3 separate regions of the Homo sapiens genome follow, and all the other regions are linked to region 3. Evidence: promoter capture Hi-C in 16 types of primary human blood cells and fetal thymus (Javierre and others, 2016). All regions are on one chromosome and are shown on one strand. The core of a region is centred on a gene start or on the middle of the fragment in contact, and the rest is flanking DNA. Distances in the headings are between cores, read along the strand shown. Region 1 overlaps KCNMA1 (potassium calcium-activated channel subfamily M alpha 1). Region 2 overlaps KCNMA1 (potassium calcium-activated channel subfamily M alpha 1). Region 3 holds the start of ZNF503-AS2 (ZNF503 antisense RNA 2).

Region 1 (2,930 bases), core at 56-2,555, 1.7 Mb before region 3:
TCCCCTCCTGCCTTCCTGCCTTCCTGCCTTCTCTCCTTCTCTCCCTTCTTGCCTTCATGCCTTCTTTCCTTCCTTCCTTCCTTCCTTCCTATTTTCTCTATCACTGTACTCAATCCAGTGGGAATACAGGCAAAAGAGCATTTGCATACTGAAGGGAATGCAAATTGTGAGGACAAGTTGGTAAGATGTATCACAAGTCTTGAAAGTGTGTGCTTGAGTCCTAATGTCTGAATTGGAAATGACTGGCTGAAGTCTGTACAGGGCAGTGGCTAGAAGCTTGGGCTTTGTGGAGTTTGTCACATTTGTGGTGAAACTTGGCTCTGTTGCTTTCAAACTATGCTGGATACACTGTCTCATTTGTGTCTCCTTAGCTATTTTCTTCTGTGTACGTATTTTTTAAAAAAGATATAGTTAGAAGTTTTAGTGTGTGTAAGTAAATAAACATACTAGATATCATCAATAATAATAGATTAATGTCATTGTCAACATCATCATTTCACCAGTAATTTAAAATAATAGTAACACTATATGTACTCTGTGTGTGTGTGTGTGTGTGTGTGTGTGTGTGTGTGTGTGTGTGTGTGTTTGTGTGTGTGTTTCTGGGCTTTCTAGTCCAGTTTGATGACTTTTCTGTGGCGTGTGTACACTCCTACGCTATTGTAATTCTTCATATGATGAAATTACCATTTACTGAGTGCCTCCAGTATGCCCACATGGACTCTTAGAATGCTCGGTCTTCTGGTATGCAGATCACCAGGGTAGGATTTAATGCCCATGCCTGTGAGGGAATAAGGGTGGAGAACTCAGGCTGGCTGCAGCTGCCTGGGAAGCCTCAACCCATCCCACAGGAAAAAGTATCCCAAATTGAGGCAAGGCAGCTGACCTTTGTCCCTACATCAGCCAGCATTTGTGTGTGGTGGTGGGGGGGGGGTGGGGGGGTGGGGGGCACCACCACTGACAGGGGATGTAGCCCCAGGTGAGGCAGCTCCTTGTAGCAGAGGGCAGTTCTCATGAAGGGACTAGCTCTGAGCCTTTAGCAGGTCACTCTTCAAGAGCCCAGGACAAATAAGGTCCCTGAAGAGGGGATTTGGGCTGTACCCTACAGCATCTGCTATAGCTCATGTCTTTTATTCATTTAATGCAGTCTTGGATATGATACCCTAGTATTTTATTTAGGATTATTGTTGTTAGTCATTAGTGTGATAAGCTTGCCATTTAAGAAAAAATGCAAGGGAACTTGTGTCCAGGTAATGCCAACTTTCTAAACCAATACAGAGCATGGAAAAACACAGATAAGTCCATTTTTAAGAATTGATCATATAATAGAGAATAGATAGAGAAGTTACTATTTTTTGAAACTGTAAAAATCTCACTTGTAAAACTCTCTGAACCTGGAAGCTTTTGGGGAGGGCATGTAATTCCTGGCTTTTGGTATATACACATTTTCTTCTTCACAACTCTATTATAGCTATTTTGTGTTACCTTAGAAAATCATTTATTTCAGAGATTTTATAGAATAAAAATAATAAAAGATATTATAAAATAGAGAAGATGAATAATTGTCACCAAAGAGTTCCCCCTCTCACCTCTCTTATCTTGGTCTCCTCTCTTAGCCTGAAGTCGCTGTCTGTAGTCTTCTGGGCTCTTTCTGGGTATAGCCAGAGTGGTCATTCGTTAAGGCTTTTCCCTGATGAGGCTACTTTCTACTTCCCAAGAGTGCAGCCCTGACCTCTCTCAGGGGACCCCGCAGGGCTTCTGGCTTTTCCCTTTAGTAGGCAACATATAGTCTCAGAATTCTGAATGTGGATTATCTAACCTTTAACTCCGCCGTCTAATTATTTCTCAAAACTTTGATTCACTCATTCAGTTCAAACAAGGATTTATTGAGCCTTCACCTTATGCCAGACACTATGTTCAATGCTGGAAATATAGCCCTGAACAAAACAGACATCAGCTCCTCCCCTCATAGAGCTGATGCTAAAGAGAGGAAGGCAGAAAGTAACCACATAACCGAGGTGCTAGTGCTTCATGCTGAGGAGAAAAGTGAAGCAGGAAAGAGGATAGGGAGTTGCACGGGTGGTGTGGGAGGAGTTGCATGTTTAGGTCGGGTAGCCAGGGAAAGTCACGCTGATCAAGGGACATTGAGTAAGAACCCAAAGGAGGTGAGGGAGTATGCCATGTGGGCATCTGGCAAACAGCATTCCAGGCAGAGAGGCTGCATGTGCAGAGGCCCTGGGGCAGTAGCATACCTGTGTGTTCAAGTGTCACTGAAGACATCTGCCAGATCAGCGGACAGTAGTAGGAGTGACAGTAGGAAGCCATCAGATCCAAAAGGAGATAGTGCTGGTGGTGGGATGGTGTTGCTTTAGGCCTTTGAAAGACTTTGACTTTTACTCTGTGTGGAATGGGTGGCATTGGAGGCTTCTGAGCAGAGAACACAAGGGGTCCAGGGCAGAAAGCGGTTAGGAAGCTGATATGGTTTGGCTGTGTCCCTACCCAAATCTCATCTTGAATTGTAGTTCCCATAATACCCCTATGTTGTAGGAGGGGCCCTGTGGAAGGTAATTGAATCATGGGGGCAGTTACCCCCATGCTGCTGTTCTCGTGATAGTGAGTTCTCACGAAATCTGATGGTTTTATAAGGGGCTTTTCCCTCTTATGCTCAACACTTCTCCTTCCTGCCACCATGTGAAGTAGGATGTGTTTGCTTCCCCTTCTGCCATGACTGTAAGTTTCCTGAGGCTTCTCCAGCCCTGTGGAATTGAGTCAATTAAACCTCTTTCCTTTATAAATTACCCAGTCTCGGGTATGTCTTTATTAGCAGAGTGAGAACGGACTAATACGGAAGCTATTGTGAATGATTCCTGAAAGACCAACCATTTCTCCAGATAGTCTGGCTTGATCTGAGGATGAAATGTAGACTGACTTTT
Region 2 (2,862 bases), core at 284-2,783, 1.6 Mb before region 3:
TCCCCCATCTAAGACTCCTACACCATTAACATATATCAAGTCTCTTTTGATGTCATCACTGCTAATATTTCTCTTCTTAGCTTTAAGGTAACTGCTGTGCATTCTGAGTTTCAGGGTGCTTTCCTCCTAGTCTGTGTTGCAGTCAACTATAAGAATCCAAAGATCTTATTTTTCCTTCTTGATATTACAGCTTTAGCCTGAATTGTGGGGGTGGGGAGAGGAGGACTAGAATTTTGCCGCTGATGCCCCTGGGTGACAGGCTGGGTTTGCATCTGCTAATTATCAAGCAGTTCTCTTAAAAAGAAGCATGATGCAGGCTAATACATCTGCAAAGCTTATTAGTGGGTGTCTTTGGGCAAGAGCAGTAGAGTGTGCTGTGGTGTTTCTAAGTGAAGCTTCACATTGCTTAGCAATCTGTGTGGTTTAGACATTTGGAAAACAGCTTTTGGTTTCCAATCCCCTGTGCTGCCCTCCATCCCTGCCCCGCTGCTGCATCATCAGAGATTTCATTCAATGGCAACCTCCTCCTTCATTCCGGGGCTCTCCTCCAACCTCACCAGCCCCGGTGCTCCTGTCTTCATGGGTTGAAAAAGGACCCCGTTGGCACAGCCCCACAAGCCCTCCCTCCTGGCAGTTGGAGGGATAAGAGCTGAGTTGGGCTGGGGATTATTGAGCCAGCATGCACCAATGTGCCCCGATCTGATTGAAACATTGGCTGTCAAGGCCTTGAATCCTTGCCTCTTTTCAACGCTCTTTCTCTGGTATGCAGGGGTTAGGAACCAGCTAAGTTGGTTCATCTGGAGAAGCAGCAGGCTGGCAGTTATGCTGACATTTCAAATACAACTTTATTTCTGATTTTGGTTACAACAAAACGCAGTCTATTACTGGGCAAAGCAAAGTAACCAAAATTAACTCTAAGAATAATGATAAGTATTTTTTTTGGTATACAGATAAATCATGATTTCTTTTTTTTTTTTTTTTTTCTTATGGCAGGGTGTTTACAAACTGTTTTAGTCTGTTTAAAGTGTATGTTCAAAGGCTGGAGTGTAAAGAGGTGTTGCCTTCACCTTCTCTAAGCCGGCCTCTTTGACTAACACATTTGGTCTTTGTCATTGGGTCCTAAAAGACAGCCATGAATTCCTAGTGAGTGACTGAGCCTTGAGTGTGTGTCCTTTGATATTTTGCCTGTATTGCACAGTCTGCCCTCAAACTGTTCATAATCTCATGAGCTGCCTGTATTTCCAGTTGAAGATGAGCAGCCGTCAACACTATCACCAAAAAAAAAGCAACGGAATGGAGGCATGCGGAACTCACCCAACACCTCGCCTAAGCTGATGAGGTAAGGAGAGGGGCTGGTTGCCCACGGTTTCCCTCTTAGCCCTTCTCTTCCTCCCCTCGCCCTCTCCTCACCCTGCCAGGCCCAGAGTCTCCCCTCCCCAGCAAGCCCGGGGTGGGGGAGGGGAGCGAGATCGTTAGATGGCTTCTTAAAGGCTGGAGTATTTATTCTGTCAGCTTGTCAGCAGTTAATGATAGAGCTGAAAAAATTCTGTCATGAAAAACAGTTTGAAAAGCTGTTTGAAAAATACATAGGCTTTAAAGTCTTAGCTGTCACCATGTCCTGTCTGTGTGTAGTTCCTAAACAGCAGTGGCACTAATGATGGCGGTAACCAATCAGAGAAACTCGTGTGGTTAGTTTGCCTGCGGCAGTCTCTTTCTGCTGGAGTCCCTCCGAGGACTGTTTTCTGTACTTAAGGCCATATGTGAGATGTATCATCACAATCAAAAATGAACCTGAAGATTACCTTCCTTTTATCCTGTCGATTGAAATCAAATTTCTGTTAATTGATTTTGACTGATAAGAAAAAGTCTAATAATCTGTGGACTTGCCAAAGCAAAGTTCAAAAGTAATCCAGTTCTGCTCAGGCTAAAAGCAATATTAATTATGAAATACAGCATGCATGTACATGTTCCCTCCTTTCCTCCCTTCCTTCCTTCCTTCCTTCCTTCCTTCCCTCCTTCCTTCCTTCCCTTCTTCCCCCTCCCTCCCTCCCTTCCTCCTTCTCTCTCTTTCTCCCTCACTTCTTTCTTGACTATGGCTTCCTCTGGTAAATAGCAAGTGAAGTCAAATTTCAACAGCGTTCTGCAGTTTCTTCTTCTTGGCCTATCTGTCTTTTATCTCCCCTTTTTGTCTTCAATTCATCTGCCAATCCCAGCATTTTTTTCCTCCGACATCCTGACTCTCTACCACCCAAATGAAACAGGAGTGATTTCAGATTTGCACTGCTCACCCTATGTGGTTTCTGCTCTGGAAATGCCTGCCATCTTGACATTAGTTTTGTCTTTTCATGGCCACCGGCTTTGATTTTTGAAATAGAATAGTGGTGATTTCCACTCCCCATATTCAATAACATTTGCATGTTCCTGGCCCTCCACATCCACCTTTCTGGAAAATAGGCAAGGGCAGTCTTTCTTCATGTGGTTGAGGACACAGGTTTTCCGTGGAAGACTCACCCTGCCCAACTCCTTTTCCATATCACCATCTATTCCTGTTAAATGTTTCCTTAAAAGTTCTCTGCCTTCCACTTCACCCAGCCTTCCTTGGGTTTGGCTGATTTGCATGCTTGTTTACAGTTTATGAGGAGGAATAAAATGTGCCAACTGCCAAGCTTTTCGTTTTTATGATGCCAGTGTCATGCTAGCATTCATTTCCTATTTACTCACCTTTAGGTAATCACCTTATCTAATTCTAATAGTTATTCCCATTTAAAGTAGAGAAAAGCCCAGCCACTTTCCTTCACCTAAATTTAGAGAAGCAAATAAATAAATAAAGAGAAGTCTGAAAAATCTGAAACCTTTGGAGCC
Region 3 (2,940 bases), core at 380-2,879:
AGTTCCTTGGTGGTGTGGCTCTTAGAAGTCTCCGAGTTTGGGGTTAGGGAACTACAGAGGGTGGCAGCCTGACCTCCGCACGCAACACGCCCCGCGAGGACTCGCGGCGGCGGGGTGGGGTGGCGGGAAATCTCCCGTGTTAGAAGTTGCCGCCGCTGGTCTCGGGTACCCGGAGCCGCGCCCGAACTCCGCGACCCCAACAGACCGAGGCTCCCAGAGGTGGAAGGGCGTCTCTCCGACACCGAGAGGGCAGGCGCACACTCCAGGCCTGCGCGCCCCTCTCGGCGCCCTGGGCGCACCTGCGCACTTTACTCTCGCTATTCATTTTCCTGACACCGTGCGCCTCTTTCATTCTTTTTCTTAGAGCCCCCACCCCACCCCCATCCCAGGAGGCCGCTCCTCTTTTCCCCTCCTCCAGTTCCCTCTCAATCTCCTCCTTCCTCTCCGTCTCTCTCTCCCTCTCTCTTTTTCCCTTCAAGTCGCACCCGCCTTGTAATCAGCAACAAAAGCTGACATAAATCACGGGAGGATTGACAAGAGCTGACAAATAACTGATTGATTGCGGTCGAGGAACATTGACAATTGATGGAGGGGTGGAGATGCCCAAAGAAGGGGGGGAGGGAGGAAAACAGGGTGGGAGAGTAAGAATGGGGGGTTGGGGGACAGACTGAGGGTGAAACAGAGGAAACATGTGACCCCCGCTGCTGCCCCAATCTACGCGTCCCCGGGCGTCACGTGGCCGGGAAGGGCGGAGAGCCCAGCGCTCCTCGCGGTGTTGAGCCGCCGCCGCTGCGACTGCCCATCTAGCTTCTGGTTTCTCCGCCGCGGAATCTGAGGAAATTAGAGCGGGCGGGCGGGCTTCTTCCAGCTCCGGCTCCCCACCTTGCCTTCTTACCCTGGTGGCTGCGCTGCGCCGCGCGGGATCTCGATTACTGCGAAGGAAAAAACACTGGGTGTGCAGGTTCCCTTCGCCCCTGGAGTTGACAGTCCGGCCGGTGTCCACACTCCCACCGGTGCTCCTTCTGGACACCCCCCGCAGTCTGTTCCTCACGCGCACCCCCCTTCAAAAGAAGGTTTCAGTTTATTTTCGAGCTGGGGAAAGGAAGAACGACGAGGAGGAAAAAAGAGGGAGGCGGCGGATGGCAAACGTAGAATAAATGTCCATCTCGTCCTCCCAGCGAAATCGAGGGAGGGGACACACAGGGGGGCGGCGAAGAGGGAGCTGCCCATTAAAACCGGCACTGAGAGTCCTGGCAGCGGCGGCGGCGGCGGCGCGGGACGCGTCACATCCCCTTGACCCTCCAATCACCTCGGGCTCCCATTTGATTGGAAGGCGGCAAAGGCTTTAATCTCCCCCTTGGTGCAGCTGCTTTTGAAGTGAGTTTCCTCGCCAGAGCCCCGGCTGGACACGCAGCGGCTCGCATCGCAGAGCGCAGCGCCGGCGCGGGGCCGCGAGAACGCAGCGCAGGGGAGCAGCCCGAGGCGGACACCGCGAGCCGCCCGGCACTCCCGCAGTCCAGCCGGCTCCTCTAGCCCGGCCACGGCTCCGCTGCGGGCCACCCAGGATTACTCGCGTCTGGCTCCAGGCGCCGAGAAGGCGCGCTGGGCGCCCGTGGCCGCCGCGCCAGCTCCTCCTCCTCCCGCTGCTCCTGCTCCCGGGGCGAGCGCGCAGCCCCGAGCCCGCCCCGCGCCTCCCGGAGCCCTCCCCCCCGCTGCTCCCATGCGCGCGGGTGGGTCATGAGCACAGCGCCCTCGCTTTCTGCCCTAAGAAGCAGTAAGCACAGCGGCGGCGGCGGCGGCGGAGGCGGAGGCGGCGGTGCAGACCCTGCCTGGACCAGCGCGCTCTCTGGAAATAGCTCCGGCCCCGGCCCAGGCTCGTCCCCGGCCGGCAGCACCAAGCCTTTTGTGCACGCCGTGCCCCCCTCTGACCCCCTGCGCCAGGCCAACCGCCTGCCAATCAAGGTGCTGAAGATGCTGACGGCACGAACTGGCCACATTTTGCACCCCGAGTACCTGCAGCCCCTGCCTTCCACGCCGGTCAGCCCCATCGAGGTAAGGACCCTCTCTCTGGATCGCACTGGGACCACTACCCTGGCTGCCACCCTAGGGCTTTCTTTTTCTCGGGATCTGGGCGGAGGTGGGGGGGTCGGAGTGATTCAGCTCCCGAATGGGGGAAGAGGCTACTGCTTCCGTACCTCAAAACTAGGGCGGAAAAGGGGGAGGAAGTGGAATGGGGCGTGCATGCTAGGGAGCAAGGCTGCCAATACTTGTTTCTCCTTTCGATATGAAAGCCCCTACCCCGACCCAGGCCCCTTCACTCGGCACCGAAGGCAGGCGGAGGTCTGAAATACGGTTCCAAAGTCGCCGTCCTTCGTATCCGCAGAAGCCAGTGTGTGCACACAGCCTCTGAGGCGCCAGCCGCCCGAGCCCTTACTCTGAAGAATTAAGGAGTGTTTGTGGGGAGGGGGTACAGTTCTGGGTCTAGGAACCGAAAACCAAAACATTTTGCTCTTTAAAAATCTAGTTAGCGCTCAGAGAGGGCAGGAAAGATGCTGCTGGGGGTGGTGGTTGGGCGGGGGGAGCAATCTGCTGCCTTTCCCAACGGCGAGAATGTTTGTGAGTGGGTGTTGAAGAGGGGGTGCCGCCTAGAATTGCGCCTTGGGGCTGGGAGGATCTTCGTGGGCTGTTGCGGAGAGGCATTTGAACCCCAGAAGCCAGGATTCTAAAGGGTTTCCACTTCTTTCTCTGTGTGACGCTCCCCCCCCATCGTCTGACCCCGCAGCTCGATGCCAAGAAGAGCCCGCTGGCGCTGTTGGCGCAAACATGTTCGCAGATCGGGAAGCCCGACCCCTCGCCCTCCTCCAAACTCTCCTCGGTTGCCTCCAACGGGGGCGGCGCGGGCGGTGCCGGCGGCGGTGCTGCGGGCGACAAGGACACCAA

The links. The method cuts DNA at HindIII sites, captures the fragments that hold promoters and counts their contacts. A CHiCAGO score of 5 or more calls a contact.
Region 1: a contact is called between a fragment that was not itself captured here and the fragment with the promoter of ZNF503-AS2 in region 3, in 1 of 17 cell types (naive CD8 T cells). The highest score is 6.7, in naive CD8 T cells.
Region 2: a contact is called between a fragment that was not itself captured here and the fragment with the promoter of ZNF503-AS2 in region 3, in 1 of 17 cell types (naive B cells). The highest score is 5.4, in naive B cells.

Annotation. Positions count from the first base shown.
Region 1 is chr10:77,124,727-77,127,656 of GRCh38, reverse strand. All of the region lies in intron 5 of KCNMA1 (potassium calcium-activated channel subfamily M alpha 1), which reads left to right. Among named protein-coding and RNA genes, the nearest start is that of KCNMA1-AS2, 15 kb to the left of the region's middle. The HindIII fragment of the contact is 191 bases long and covers 1,210-1,400 here.
Region 2 is chr10:76,968,451-76,971,312 of GRCh38, reverse strand. KCNMA1 (potassium calcium-activated channel subfamily M alpha 1) reads left to right here. Exons shown (of 28, transcript NM_001161352.2): 20 at 1,246-1,339. The region is part of intron 2 of KCNMA1-AS1 (KCNMA1 antisense RNA 1); the gene reads right to left. Among named protein-coding and RNA genes, the nearest start is that of KCNMA1-AS1, 82 kb to the right of the region's middle. The HindIII fragment of the contact is 2,271 bases long and covers 398-2,668 here.
Region 3 is chr10:75,400,217-75,403,156 of GRCh38, reverse strand. ZNF503-AS2 (ZNF503 antisense RNA 2) reads right to left here and starts at 1,629. Exons shown (of 2, transcript NR_024421.1): 1 at 896-1,629. ZNF503 (zinc finger protein 503) reads left to right here and starts at 1,393. Exons shown (of 2, transcript NM_032772.6): 1 at 1,393-2,052; 2 at 2,783-2,940. The coding sequence starts at 1,738. RefSeq lists an enhancer at 1,891-2,391. The HindIII fragment of the contact is 15,649 bases long and covers 1-2,940 here.